Regions from separate parts of the Homo sapiens genome. Here regions 2, 3, 4 and 5 are each linked to region 1. The links are contacts of gene promoters, found by promoter capture Hi-C in blood cells and fetal thymus (Javierre and others, 2016). All regions are on one chromosome and are shown on one strand. Each heading gives the region's core, a stretch centred on a gene start or on the middle of the fragment in contact. The rest is flanking DNA. Distances are from core to core; before and after follow the strand shown.

Evidence for each region. Contacts are between HindIII fragments. The CHiCAGO score rates a contact against its expected background, and 5 or more counts as called.
Region 2: a contact is called between a fragment that was not itself captured here and the fragment with the promoter of TNFSF4 in region 1, in 1 of 17 cell types (monocytes). The highest score is 5.3, in monocytes.
Region 3: a fragment that was not itself captured here is called in contact with the fragment with the promoter of TNFSF4 in region 1 in 2 of 17 cell types (M0 macrophages and monocytes); the score reaches 8.6 in M0 macrophages.
Region 4: a fragment that was not itself captured here is called in contact with the fragment with the promoter of TNFSF4 in region 1 in 14 of 17 cell types (M0 macrophages, M2 macrophages, M1 macrophages and 11 more); the score reaches 17.0 in M0 macrophages.
Region 5: a contact is called between a fragment that was not itself captured here and the fragment with the promoter of TNFSF4 in region 1, in 3 of 17 cell types (naive B cells, M2 macrophages and activated CD4 T cells). The highest score is 9.1, in naive B cells.

The regions. Positions count from the first base shown.
Region 1 is chr1:173,205,967-173,208,885 of GRCh38, reverse strand. TNFSF4 (TNF superfamily member 4) reads left to right here and starts at 1,555. Exons shown (of 3, transcript NM_003326.5): 1 at 1,555-1,862. The coding sequence starts at 1,710. RefSeq lists an enhancer at 1,564-1,623. The HindIII fragment of the contact is 1,344 bases long and covers 820-2,163 here.
Region 2 is chr1:172,702,202-172,705,120 of GRCh38, reverse strand. No RefSeq gene overlaps it. Among named protein-coding and RNA genes, the nearest start is that of FASLG, 45 kb to the right of the region's middle. The HindIII fragment of the contact is 3,439 bases long and covers 1-2,919 here.
Region 3 is chr1:172,725,667-172,728,585 of GRCh38, reverse strand. No RefSeq gene overlaps it. Among named protein-coding and RNA genes, the nearest start is that of FASLG, 68 kb to the right of the region's middle. RefSeq lists a silencer at 262-311. The HindIII fragment of the contact is 1,512 bases long and covers 680-2,191 here.
Region 4 is chr1:172,764,708-172,767,626 of GRCh38, reverse strand. No RefSeq gene overlaps it. Among named protein-coding and RNA genes, the nearest start is that of FASLG, 110 kb to the right of the region's middle. The HindIII fragment of the contact is 856 bases long and covers 974-1,829 here.
Region 5 is chr1:172,787,038-172,789,956 of GRCh38, reverse strand. No RefSeq gene overlaps it. Among named protein-coding and RNA genes, the nearest start is that of FASLG, 130 kb to the right of the region's middle. The HindIII fragment of the contact is 3,168 bases long and covers 1-2,919 here.

The DNA of each region.
Region 1 (2,919 bases), core at 306-2,805:
TAGTTTCCAATAGTATTTATGGCTTTTTTTTTTTTTGCTGTGACTCTTAGTCATTTTTTGAAAATTGACGAGTAAATAGTTACTGATTTTAATACTCTTTTATGAAGAACTATTACACAAGAATTGGGCTTTACACACTGATTTTTCCTTCAGCTTTTTTCTCCACACCCTGTATGTAACACAAGCTTTGTTCAAGGGAATAACTATGACAAATATGTTTGGATACAATTTGATTTCTAGTTTTGGCTTGGAGTCTATGATATTGTGCCTTAGTTACCTTATCTTTCAGATAAAACTTAAATTTCTCAACACCAGTATGTTCTCCTAATGCAAGGCATAATTATTGTAGTGAAGGTATTAATTCATATTTTAATTGATTAATACTGTAGTCATAAATGTACTTTACATTTCCCACAAACTTTCTCTTTTAAGTATGCCTCATTTCCATTTTTTCTGTGAAGTGGTATAACAACTCATACTGTCAATATCCAAAATATTTCTCCCTCCTTTCTTTACATATCTGCTGGGTGCCTCATGGGGAGCTGAGAGAGACATACTTGGCCACAAAGAGAGACAATTCCGTCTTAAACAGCTTTTCCCCAGCATCCTTATGTTGTCCAGTACAGTGCCAGGCTCATGTGATGTACTCAGTAAATATTTGCCCATTTGAACTTTACATTATAAGTAATTTTATCATTTATTTCATTTCATTGTTTATTTTAGTGGTAAAGGGTACCTGGTGTCTATTGATAGAATACTCTTACTTTCCAAGTTCTGAGGCCAGCCACGACCTCAAAGAAAGAAATAATCTTCAAAGCTTATTTACATCTATTCATTTGTTCATTCATGGAAAAATTATGTACGGGAAAAATGTGAAGTGGAAGGAAAGGAGACAAGGATACCCTTCTGCTTCTTTTCTGGTATGCAGAAAATTAATCATATAATTGTTTATTGAATTTGCCTCAAAGGGTTAAATGAGAGAAAGATTGCAAGTCCATCTAACACAGTGTCTGACACATAGTAAATGCTTCCAAAAGGTAGTTTATTTTTATGCAATAGACTACAACCAAGGATCTCTCCTTTACTTCTGCATGACCCAGTGTCCTATTTTCTTGTTTTGTCTTTTTCATTCAAGAATGATCTGTGTGTGCTTTCTTTCTGAATCTGTGAGAGGGGTTCAATGTTTAGTTACATAGTAAAGTGCAGATAAGAACCTTGGGCCAGCATTTCCCCTAAATCTTTTCTATGATTTAAGACACCTTGGGGAAGGGATATATGAGCTGCTACATTAACGGATGATGATTTTTATCTTTACCAAGTGACCCACAATTTGTTACTGGTGCAATAAGTTAAGAAAATAGCATACTTTTATGACTGTCATTTCACAGTCACTCAAATCAGAACTGGAATGTCACAAAAACAACTCCCTGTTAGCCCAGAGGAAAAAAAAAAAGAAAGAAAGTAAAGGGGAAATTCAGATTAGTCACAAAGAAGTTCCCCCGCCTGCCTGCAAAAGTTGCAGCGTTAAAACTGAGAGAGTCCGCTTTGCTCTTTCAATCGCCTTTTATCTCTGGCCCTGGGACCTTTGCCTATTTTCTGATTGATAGGCTTTGTTTTGTCTTTACCTCCTTCTTTCTGGGGAAAACTTCAGTTTTATCGCACGTTCCCCTTTTCCATATCTTCATCTTCCCTCTACCCAGATTGTGAAGATGGAAAGGGTCCAACCCCTGGAAGAGAATGTGGGAAATGCAGCCAGGCCAAGATTCGAGAGGAACAAGCTATTGCTGGTGGCCTCTGTAATTCAGGGACTGGGGCTGCTCCTGTGCTTCACCTACATCTGCCTGCACTTCTCTGCTCTTCAGGTAAGATGCACCACTGGGCGCTGTTTTCCCACCAGCTCATGCTGATGGCAGCTGCAACAGCTGCAAACAGTCGCTTGGAAATAATCTTATGCCAAAAGTGTTGAGTTTTTTTTCCCTCTCCCCACAGCAATCGTAAAGTGTGGTTAAACGCCCTTCTGTCTCTCCTTTCCTTCCTTCTTTTCAGCAGTGGCAGTGGTAGGGCAGAGTGGAGGTAGGGCAGAGGCACAGCTTCTAGATCTTTTTCTTTTTCTTTGCAATGCAAGATTCCTTGTATCCCTTTATAAGCTGTCACTTTGAAGCTTTGAGTCACTGATATACCTGGTCTACCCATTGTGATAGTAATGTGTTTGATCAGGCAATTAATATTAAAAGGAAATAGGAAAGAGACCAGTTCCACTTTCCCATAATATTCATATACCCTATAGACCTGCAAGGTGATTTTCTTTGTAAAGAATGCTGAAGGTATCAATATTAATAGCGGAGCAATGTGTGCGTGCATGTGTGTGTGCCTATGTGCTCACTCATTCACCCCAATGATTTAATCAGATATTGTTTCTCACAATCTATCTCTTCCAGTCATAATTTAAAGACATCATTTCACCTTTTCCCTACCTTATTAAATACATCATGTAGTAGGAGATTATCCTTCTAGTATTTTCCCCATATAGTTAAAATATTTCCATTTTTCTTTCACTTTATTCTTGTTCCACACTTCTCTCTTTTGCATTATTTTTTCTTATTCAGTAGTTCAGATATACAAACATTATTAGGTATTTAAGGATGTTCTTCACTGCAGAAGATGCCACTGGAGAAAAATAAATCTATACTCTCTTCGTGTTCCTTTGTTGAGCTAGTCTGATAATCTTGTTTTCTAGGTGGTTGCTTTGGGTTAGAAATGTTTCTCCCTGATAAAGTTCAGGTAATACAAACTGATTTCTGATGGTCTTGTCTGAGATTAAGCACCTCCAATGAAACCAGAATGAGATGAGCAGTCTTGGCAAATGCCTGGGCTTGTTTCTGCCTACAGGAAATAGGGTTTTCAGTGCATGGAGGCTGG
Region 2 (2,919 bases), core at 217-2,716, 500 kb after region 1:
ATGGTAAAATTGTAGCAGAACATGTCAAAATGAATCATCTATCCCCCCAAATGTCTACTTACCAAAAGTAAATAAGGCTTACCTACTTGTAGCCCTTGTTCGTTATGAAAATTATTGAAACCTCAAGCAACTAAAGCCTACCTCCAGACAAGACCACAGCACGCTGCCAGGAAATGTCTCTTCAGAAGAGGGGGCTCATAGGAAAGCAGTTTTCTCTTCTTTTGTTCTAGGAGGAAAGAGACATTTGGCTATGTAGAAGGAGGGCTCAGAAAGGTAACTTATGAGGAGAATGAAAGCTCTGGAACTAGAGAATTTTTTTTGACAACTGGCTCATCCTAACCACAGATAAGCAGAGGCTGGTTTCCTGACATGAAGGCCTGGAAGGGAACTAGGAGTGCACTTGGAAGAAGCCAGAGTCAGGGACAGGAAGGAATCACTAAGAGAGTGCTATTGAGATGGGGAAGTGACAATGGAAGGAGACAAAGCCAGGGCCTTCTCTTTGTGATTTTTATTTTACACATTGTTTTCATTTTCCTTTCCTTCCCTCCCCCTTCCCCCAACACCAGCTTATTCCTGCAAACCCTCTGAGGAAACAAGTATTTTGCCTATGAATTGCCTGGGTGGGTCTGAGCTGGATAATCTAGCAAGCTCCTTCAATGTTCCTTCTCTTCATACAAGGTATAAAAGCTACAGAAGTTGAAAAGTGGTGTATGTATTGAATATGTCATTGATATATTAATTTATAAGGGCATTTATACATTTGACTGACCTACAAAAATTCCTTTCTTCTATATACAGGTTAAGTCAATAAGACACAGCCAAAGACCAAGGAGCATTTTCTTAAAAGTCCTGGCAGACAGCAGGCTGTTGATCCCTCTGACCTCTCTATCCGAGTGGTGTGCCACATCCTCTTCCTCTCTCTGCCCATCTCTGGGTGTGCCATCTCTATAAGTACCACCCACAGTGGGGAAGAGGTGAGGGTGTCTGCCTTTAAAGAATGGACAATTTCTTAGTTTTGTTTCTTCTTAGTGACTTAAAACTAAAGGTTCATTGAGTTGGGAAGTCACAACTATTGACTAGAAGGAGACCTTAAAAGGATTTATTGCCCTCATATGTTGTTTTTCCCACTCTTCCCCTATTCATGAAACATCTGCTCAGCACAGTGGCAGAAGGAGTGATTTACTGGGCCTTGCCCACACCAAGAGCATTACTGTTTATTGCTTTTGTTCACATCTGTCTGCTGGGTCATTCCCACCTATCTCTCAAGGGATATAGGTCCAGCTCTTGACCCACATCCTTTCTAGAAATGGTTTTACCATCTTGTTCCACAATGAATCCCCCGACTCCTATAATTCAGACCAGAGCTGATCTGGAACGTTTACTTGACATTTGTCATGCCCAGAACTGCCATGGTTCTAATCTTTTTGTGATCATCTAAACATTTACATAGAAGGCCTGTCCTACCAACTTGACTGTAATCTCTTTAAAGACTGAAGGGTGCAACACCCAGCCCAGGGCTGAGCATTCCTAATAAGGACCTTCAAAAATATTTAGAAGTATTAGTTTTCTGCTAATAAATAAATTTCTAATTTCCATCCTCCACTTTATTCTTCATCTTGCCTAATTGAATTGATTTCTTTTCCACTTCTCTTTCAAATTTCTTTATGTGTTTGGCTCTTTTCCCCTTAATAATATGCTATATTTTACTATAAAAGTCCTCAAGTGAGTCTGTATCTGCTCTCTCCAGTTTTTCTTCTCTTATTCTTTCTTACACTCCTTCAAATAAGATGTTTGTCCTCAAAGTCACACCAAACCTGCTCTTATCAAAGTCACCAATGACCCCTACTTTGTTGGCTCAATTCTCAGCATTTCTGAGCACTCGTCATACTTGATCTGTAAAAATCATTTGACATAGTAGACCATTCCCTACTCCTTCATACACTTTCTCCACCTGATTTCTAGGAGCCCACACTCTGGTTTTCCTCCTACCCTGTGGGTCACTTCTTTTCCCTCTCCTTTACTGGTTTCTCCTCTTCTTTCTAATCTCTTTATCCTGGTGTATGCCAAGACTCAGTCCTTGTTCCTCTGTTTTTCTCTGTCAACATTCACTTATCCAGTCTCATGACTTTCAATAGTGTTATATTCCATGACTCTCAAATTTCTACATCCAGCCCAAACCTCTCTCTTGAACTTTAGAATCATATCCAGAACTGCCTACTTTATATTTTTGAATATAAAGTGTTGAAATATAAAGTGTTGGAAACACAAGTCCCTTTAGGTTCAACTTATCCAAAACAGAACTTTTCCTCTTCTCTCTCACACGTGAACTCCTGATCTTCCCTGTCTTCATCTTGGTTAATTGTTACTTCATCCCTCCAGTCACTCAGGTCAAAAATAACCTGTGTGTGTCTGAGCTGGGTATCATCAAACCCACCCAGCATGCCTGACCTCTTTCTCTCTCACAACCCACATCCTATCAGTCAGTAAATCCTGTCACCTCTTGCCTTGAAAATATTTCCAGGATCTGACCACTTCTCACTACCTCTGCTGCTCCCACCCTGGCCCTTTTCACCCTCACCTATCTCTTGGATTGTTGCCACAGCTCTTTCCTGGTCTCCTTGCCTTTACCGTTGCCCATCCATAGTCTCTTCACAACGCAGAAGTCAGACCCTCTTAAAGCATAAGTCAGATCATATCACTCCCCTAAAGAGGATCCCTACCTCACTCAGAGTAAAACCCAAAGCCCTTACAGTGCCCAGTAAGGACGTGCCTGAATAACCCTTCACCTACCTCCTTAATTCTCTGACCTCACTTCATATGACTCTCCTCATCCCCCACTCCACTCCAGACAAACTGACCTCCTTGTGCTGCCTGGAACATGCCAGCAACTCTCCTTCCTTAGGTTCTTTATACCAGCTG
Region 3 (2,919 bases), core at 186-2,685, 480 kb after region 1:
AGCTGTCACTTCTTATTTTGAATTTACTTTCATTTGGATGAGATTTTTTTTCTTCCCCCCTTGAGGGTGTGACTGTTGCATATATGGGGTAGAGTCCTTTGGTTTTGTTTCTATGTGTTTTTAGGGAGCCAAGGCTCTATATGAATTCTTTGGTCATAGATAGTCTTAGTGTAGTGGTTTTCACAAATGCTAGTTGCTTGTAGATTGTAGTATTTGTGTGCTGTGCATGTGGTCAAGCTCACTACCTCCTATAGAAATGGGGATGTAGAAGTTTTGAGAGGCTTGTTTCCCAGCACTGTGCCCTTGTGTCAGCAGGAATCATATTGGGGTTGTGCAGTTCACCCTACAGACCAGCAGGTGACACTTGCTGGTAAGAGCCAATTGAGTGCTATACACTGATGTCAGCAGAAGTTGTGATGGACCATGCAATTTGACCTCCTGGCCAGTAGGTGGTGCTTGCAGGCAAAAGGCAGTTGCAGTGATGGCAGTGGAATTTTTACTTGGACTTTATTGATGGGGGAATGTACCAGGGTGTTCCTGGTGAGGGGCAGAGTGTGGAGCTCTCAGGGGTTCTCTCCCATGCTCTGCTGCCAAGGTGGCTGAAGAGGGGAAAGTTGAGCAAGGCGGTGTTAGGTGAGCCCACAGTCAAGCTCCCCTGGCTGGATGCAAGCACCAAGCTTGGTGAGGTTCTATGGGTAGCTCTCAGGCCTCTGGGACAACCCTCCAGGGAGGGGCAGAGGTCCTTCGCCTGCAACACAGGGCACTCTCAAGGGAAGAGAGGCGCCCAGGGTCTTCAGAGCAGCAGGCAGCTGTCAGGCCCACTCACCTCCCACAACCCCAAGAGCAACAGGCCTAACCCATTAGGTTAGTTTCAACCCATCCATGCCAAGATCACCAAGCTATTCCATGTATTCTAGACCACGAGACACCCTGCAGCAGAAATCGCTATCAGGCCACACCCTTCCCACCAGCGTTGTGAAGAGAGGGGTGCCCAGCTCCTGCACCACCACATGAACCTGACACACTCTTCTCTGTGTTTTAACAGAGGAGATCCTCCACTGGAGATCAGGCCGTAGATCTTATCTCCATACTTCTGGGTGGTGTGCTTGAGGCCTAGAAAATTGGAACCAGGCCAACTTAATTACCCTCTGTCTCCTTGGGGTCTAGCACCAACTATGATGGGGGAGTAAAGTGCTCCCAGGCTGCCACCAACAAACCACTCAGGCGGAGCAGTAAAGGCTATACTGTGGGTCTCCTCCCAGCTCCTCCTGGGAATGGCCAGGCAGTCTTAGGAGGGACCAGCAGGGATGGAGGCATGTGGTTCGGATGCATCTTAGTCCTGTGGCAATGGCATTGGGGCTTGTCTTGGGTGCATGAGTGCCTGACCTCCACTCTCTCCTGGCCTGGCAGACAACAGGAGCTGCAACTTCTTAGGACAGGATGCAAAGCCTTGGAAGGTGGGCACCCAGAGTTGCATTTTGCTGCAGCTGTGAAAAAAAGATCTTTAGCATGCAGTTTCAAGCAGTCCCTTGGTGTGTTCTCTAGGCAGCTCCCCCTGCCAGTCTGTAGAGGTCATAGGAACTCTTGTAGCTAGGAGCTCAGAGGTCCACAGCAGGAATGAGGTGTCCCAGGGTTCCTTTACTCACTGCTTCCTTGGGTGTGACCTGGGTCTAGGGGTCAGTCCTGATGCCAAGCAGGCAGCCCTGTTTCCTCTTTCTTCAACCACGAGGTCTTCTGTTGCTTCTCTATTAAATTTCAGTGTTTTCTCTCAAAAGTTCTGTTCGAAGTGTGAAGGTTTACTCAATATTTTGGTTTTTCTCCATGGAAGAGGTGCATCCCAGCCACATTTACTCAGCTATGTTTAATTCTTCCAGTTTTTACATAATTCTCAACAAATTGCAATGTCAGTGAGAACCTAATATAAACTACAAGTAAGCATTTAATCTACTTGTAGTTATAAGCCACTTTACTATTTAGTATACTTCTGCCGTTTTGACATTAGTTGTCAGATGACATGCAGAGGAGCTCCCAGAAATGAATTTTATTAACTGTGTAAATAAGCTGTGAACTAAAGAGAACCCTCAGAGAGTTACAGAGCTGAAGCACATCATGATGATCATCTGTTTCAAATGCTTCAATGTACAGACAGAAAACTGAAGGCTGAGAAGGAAAATTACTGGTTTGCTAAGCTTACATGAGACTTACACATTGAGGGAACCAGACCTTTAGAAATCAAGTCAAACAGAGAAGCAATTGTAACTGTTAACAGCTCATATTGAAATCTCAGGATAGCTTCAATTAAATTGATCGAGGCACTTAAAAAATCATGAGTCTTAATTTTTGGTTCTAAAGTCAAGTCACCAACAATATTTAATAACTGACTCTATTCATTATCATAAATATAAATCAGACAAAATCACCCAGAACTTAAACACTAAAATGATCAAAAGTAAGGTTTTGTGTTACCCATCTTCTTCCACTTTAACTTGTTATTGCATTTGTAATACATATTACAGCATGGGGAGGAGAGGTGTCTGATCTGTGCTTGACACAACTGGGGAATATACACACATATCTACTGATACAATTTTATACCAGCAGACATGTTCAGCTCTAAATTCAAAGCAAGGCTGGTGTACAGCTATCTTTCCTTAATTGTCATAAGGTATTCATATATGTGTACAGTGACGGCAAAAGAAGTTTTGTTCTGCAGACTATTTTTAAAAGGTTTTTAAAAAGTTTTTCTAAATAGTTAAAATATATTTTAAAAATATATGAGTCACATTTTTATGGAATCCAGGAAATATTTTCACTGAACTCTTCTTTGGGATATAGTTGAAAATCAGTAATATAGAGACCACTGGTTGTAAATGCAAACAGCTTGAGTGTCAGGTCTCTAGCCCTCTTCTCCTTAGGTCC
Region 4 (2,919 bases), core at 152-2,651, 440 kb after region 1:
CCTGGAAGTCAGCTCATCCCCAGATGCTGGCATCTTTATTTCAACCTTGTGAGATTCAAAGCAGTTTCAGGTGCTGTGCCTGAACCTCTGAGCTACAGAACTGTGAGATAATAAATGGATGCTGTTTTCTGCTGCTAAATTTGAGGTAATTGGTACAGCATCAATAGAAAACTAATACAGCCCAAGAAAGTTATATCATGAGGCTAACGTAAGGAGCATCTGACTAAGAAAGGAGCAGAGAGTGGCTGAGTATCCCTTTTTCACAAGGTTATTTGAGGAGCACTAAGTTTGGGGTTATTTAACACTCTTGTCTTTCCATTAATATATTTGCCTATCTCCAGACTCCGTGCTAGGGAAGGATATATTTCCAAAGAATTTAAATTAAGCAAGGTCTCACCAGCAACCTAATCTGTACCTTTTAAAAATAATAGGATAAGCTGGGTGCAGTGGCTCATGCCTGTAATCCCAGAACTTTAGGGGGCTGAAGCAGGAGGATCACTTAAGCTCAGGAATTCAGCGCCAACCTGAGCAACATAGTAAGACCTCCTCTCTAGTAGAAATTTTAAAAATTAGCTAGGTGTGGTGGCACACACTTATGTCCTAGTTACTAGGGAGTCTGAGGCAGGAGCATTACTTGAGCCCAGGAGATTAGGGGTACAGTGAGCCATGATTGTGCTACTCCTCTCCAACCTGGGTGACACAGCAAGCCTGTCTCAAAAAACAAATAAATAAATAAATAATCAAATAAAAATAATTGGTGACTTTCAAGACATAAAGTAAGAAGAGTGTCCTTTGAGGGTTGTGATAGATGGCATTACTATTCTTCCAAATATTCCAGTTCCCCTTTCTGTGATGTCCTTCCCTGTAGGAGGATTATGTATTATCCTCCATGACATCAGCTTTAGCCATGTGATTTGCTTTGGTTCATTACATGCAAGCAGAAGTGATGTTTTTTCACTTACGAGCAGAAGCTTTAAAACACAGCATGTGATCACTAGGCTCTATTTCCCTCTCCCATGAGCCCAGCAACACCACAGTTAGAGGCCACGCCGTCATCCTGGGTCCCACAGTGAACAAGGCATGGACCAGAGCCTCAGTCGGTCAGTGATGGACATGTAACTTGAGCAGGAAATAAACCTGTATATCCCACTTGGATTTGGGGGTCATTAGTTACCACAGCATAACTTAGCCAAGCTGACTGATATAAGTCCTATAACTTGCCAACCTCTTTAATGACTGGGAGTCATTAAACAAGGCCCCCTAAAGCAAACTGTTTCAGTTCAAGTGGATATATGTAAAAGGCTCTTCTTGGTTATGCAGATAAGTTGAGTGACATTATCGAGGGAGGGCAAAATGCCTTGAGTAATACCTATATTGGTTAAAGAAGCATAGGCTCTGTCACAACAACGGGTAGATTCCCAAATCTCAGAAACTCACAAAATTAAAATTTCTCATGTAGACGAGCTCCAATGCAGGTTAATCACTCTTCTGATGGCTCCCCTCTAAGTAGTGATTTAAGGCTCATGCTGTTCCCAACTTGCAATGCAACCATTTTGGAATCCTTATTTCCAAACACATAGTTAAAGAGCTCATGGAAGATCTCACAGAAAAGTTTTTATAGCAAGGCCCAGGAAAGGTAAGGCCCATATTCTCTAGGCAGATTTCATCACAGATTCCACCTAGTTGAAAGGAGGACTGGAAAATGAAATCTTCCTATGTGACCAGGAAGAAAATAAAATGGTTCCATGAACAGTTACATTTTATCTGCTATAGTAAGGTAGTATTTTTACAGGAAAAAAGATATAAAACATGTTGAATTTTGAGAAGCTTTAAAAAGGCTGTGTTGCCACTTGGATGATAATGGTTAACAGGGAAGAACATTGAATATTGGCTCTTTGAGTAATAGTTATTGGAATCCAACCAGACCTCAGTATTGGTGAGCTTGTGCCTCTGGATGTGTCTGTGTATGTTAACCAAAAGTGCTTTCTGCTAAAGCCATATCCATACGGACTGAGTGTAGCCACTTCAGAAATGGAGGTGTCTGGACAACCCAGGGCCATGCTGCTTCAGTGGACAAGCAGCACTGGAGGGACATACCTGACTTGTCTTCAGCAGCAACCCCAAGTGGTGATGGGCAACATACTGTTCAAAGCCCAGTTCTCCCTATACCTAGCATTAGAAAAGGACTGATCTCTCTTTGGGTCAAATAAACCCTGGAAGGAATTCTTAGGGGAATTTAAGAGGGGGAGCTTCAAAAGCTTCTTTTCACTTACAAGAAGAAACTTTAAGAGACAGCATGTGATCACTAGGCCCTACTTCCTTCTCCCATGAGCCCAGCAGCATCCCGGTTAGAGGCCACACCAGCATCCTGGGTCCCACAATGAAGATGACATTGACCAGAGCCTCAACTGGTCAATGATGGACATGTAACTTGAGCAAGAAACAAACCTGTATATCCCACTTGGATTTGGGGGTCATTAGTTACCACAGCATTTTCAAAAGAAAATGTGTTGCAATTCAAGAAAATAATTTGTAAACTAAAAGATGTCTCATATTTGAATAACAAATTTTTTGAGCAATTCATTCTGGTTTACTAAAGAGAGATATAGTATAAAGATAATAGAGGAGTGGAATAAGAGCATCAAAATAAAAGAAATCTAAGGGAGAGAAGTAAGCAATTCATCTTGATTAATTTTATTTTATTTTTAATCAATAACCCCCAACATGGCAGCAATGCAAACCACATAGGCCAGCTGGTCAGAACAGTACCCACTGAGAGATGGACAGTTTTGTGGGAGGTGATTCCACTTTAGAAATTCAAGGTGTAGAGAACACAGCAGCATATCTGCTCTGTGCAGTATTGAGACATGGGTAGGAGCAAGAGGATACCCTTCCAGTATGTAATTAAAGCACTTGTGT
Region 5 (2,919 bases), core at 174-2,673, 420 kb after region 1:
GGGTGCCCTGCACTTTCATTTTTCATTGAATCTCACAAATTATTTAGCCAGTCATAACCACAGTCACCTGTGAGAAGAGTGAGCATGTGCTAGGTCAGTATTTGGTCCTCTTCTCCCTCACCTCCTTGGTTTTGTAGCAGATTTCTCTGATCTTCTCCTGCTCCTGATGTGGGGGATAGAAAGGTAAAAGGTAAGGGAGAGTTGAGAAGAAAATATTTTCCCAAGTGCATAAATAATCAGTTGAGGGTCACCATTCTGTTCCCTAGGAAAGATGAGGGTTTTTTCAGCTTTTCTTTTTAATTAAGGAGGAAAGAGTCAACCATGTAAGATGAGACAATGAAGTGTGGTATGTGTATGTATGTGTGCATATATTAAAGAAGTTTCATTTTCTATGTGCCAGACACTGCATCAAGAATTTTGTGTATATAATCTAATTTATTCCTCAAGATCAACTATGAGGTAAATATTACTATTATTCCAACTTACACATGGAGAAAATGATTCTTGGAAAAATTAAATAGGCAAGGTGGCAGAGCAAGATGGCACAACACCAATTTAACAACTGTCTACACATTAAAAAAAGCATCTTCATAAGAACTAGAAATCAGGCGAGCATTCACAGTACTTGGTTTTAACTTCACATTGCTGAAGACGTAGGAAAAACAGTCTTGAATTGCGGACACTACCCCTTCCCCATTCCCCAGCAGCAATGGCAAAGTGCAGACAACATTTCTGTGCTCTGGGGAGAGGGAGATCACAGCAATTGTGAGGCATTGAACTCAGTGCTGCCCTATTATAACAGAAAACAAAACCAGACCAAACTCAGCTGATGCCTGCCCATGGGGGGAGCATTTAAACCAGCCCTGGAGCTCTTGAAAGGCAGTCTAGGCCACAAGGACTGCAATTCTTTGGCAAGTCCTAGTGCTGAACTGGTCCCAGAAACAATGGACTGGGGGACCACAGGACCTACTGAGAAACCAACTGGGGCAGCTAAGGGAGTGCAGGCATCTCTCCTTCCCTTACCACAGGCTGCATAGCTCTTGGCTCCAAAAAAAGACCCCTTCCCTCCAGTTGAGGAGAGGAAAGGGAAGAATAGAGAGGACTTTGTCCTACATCTTGGATACCAGCTCAACCACAGCAGGATAGGGCACTGGTCAGAGTCATGAGGCCCTCTTTCCAGACAACATTTCTAGATACACCCAGGGCCAGAAGGGAACTGACTGCCTTGAAGGAAAGAACTCAGTCCTGTCAGTATTCATCACTTGCTAACTGAAGAGTCCTTGGGCCCTGAATAACCAGCAGTGATACCCAGGTACTACACTGAGGGCCTTGGATGAGACTTGGAGACTTACTGGTGTTGGGTGAGACTCAGCACATTCCCAGCTGTGGTAGCTATGGGGCAAGATTCCTTCCACTCGAGAAAGGCAGAGGGAAAAATAAAGAGGACTTTCTCTTGCACCTTATGTACCAGCTCAGTCACAGGGGTTTAGAGCACCAAGCAGGCTTATGGAGACCCCAATTCTGGTACTTGGCTTTTTGATAGCATTTCTGGACATTCCCTGAGCCAGAGGGGAGCCCACTGCTCTGAAGGGTGAGTCTCAGATTAGGCAGCATTCACTGCAAGCTGAATGAAGAGCCCTCAGGCCATAAAAGAACATCAGCTATACTCCGGCAGTACTCCTCATGGGTTTCTGGTGGCAGTGGCCATGGGGTGAGGCTCCTCTGCCTTTGGAAAGGTGAGGTAAGAGTAGAAAGGACTGCATCTTGTGGTTTGAGTGACAGCTCAGTGACAGTAAAATAGAACACCAAGTAGACTTCTAAGGTTTTTAACTCTAGTCCCTGACTCTCAGATGGCACCTCTGGACCTACCTGGGGCCTGGGGAAACTTGCCACTCTGAAGAGAAGGACACAGGTCTAGCTAGCTTTGCCACCTACTGATTGTAGAGCCCCAGGGCCTTGAGTGAACATAAGACATAGCCATGGAGTGGTTATAGCAGGTCTTGGGTGAGACCCAGTGCTGTTTGGTTTCAAGCCTGACCCAGTGCAGTCCTGGTGGTGGTGGCCACAGAGGTGCCTGTGTCAGTCCACTCCAGCTCCAGGTGGCTCAGAACAGAGAGAAAGACTTCTTACATTTGAGAGAAAGTAAAAAAACAAGAGAACAAGAATCTATGCCTAGTAATCCAGAAAATTCTTCCAGATCTTGTCTGGAAGAGCCATCTTCCAGAAAGAAAGACCATCAAGGTGTTACCTCTATGAGTCTGCAAGAACCACAGCATTACTGGGCTTGGCATGCCCTCTAAAGCAGATACAGCTTAGATCACAACACCAAGTTTCTTTGAATATATGGAAAGCCTTCTCATGAAGCCCAGGTAGAAACAAGCCCAGACTGAGAAGACTACAATGAATACATAACTCTTCAATGCTCAGACACCGAAGAACATCTATAAGCATCAACACAATCCAGGAAGACATGACCTAACCAAATGAACTAATTAAGGCACCAGGAACCAATTCTGGAAAAAAAAAAAACCAGAAATATGTAACCTTTCAGACGGAGAATTCCAAATAGCTGTGTTGAAGAAACTCAAAAGAAATTCAAGATAATACAGAGAAGGAATTCAGAATTATATCAGATAAATTGAACAAAGAAATTGAAATAATTTGAAAGAATCAAGCACAAATTCTGGAGCTAAAAAATGCAACTGGAATACTAAAGAAGGCATCAGAGCTTTTTAATAGCAGAATTGATAAAGCAGAAGAAAGAATTAGTGAGCTTGAAGACAAGCTATTTGAAAATGCACGGTCAGAGAAGACAAAAGAAATAACAACAGAAAATGAAACGCATCAACAGGATCTATAAAATGGCCCCCAAAGGGCAAATCTAAGAGTTATTGGCCTTAAAGATGAGCTAGAGAAAGC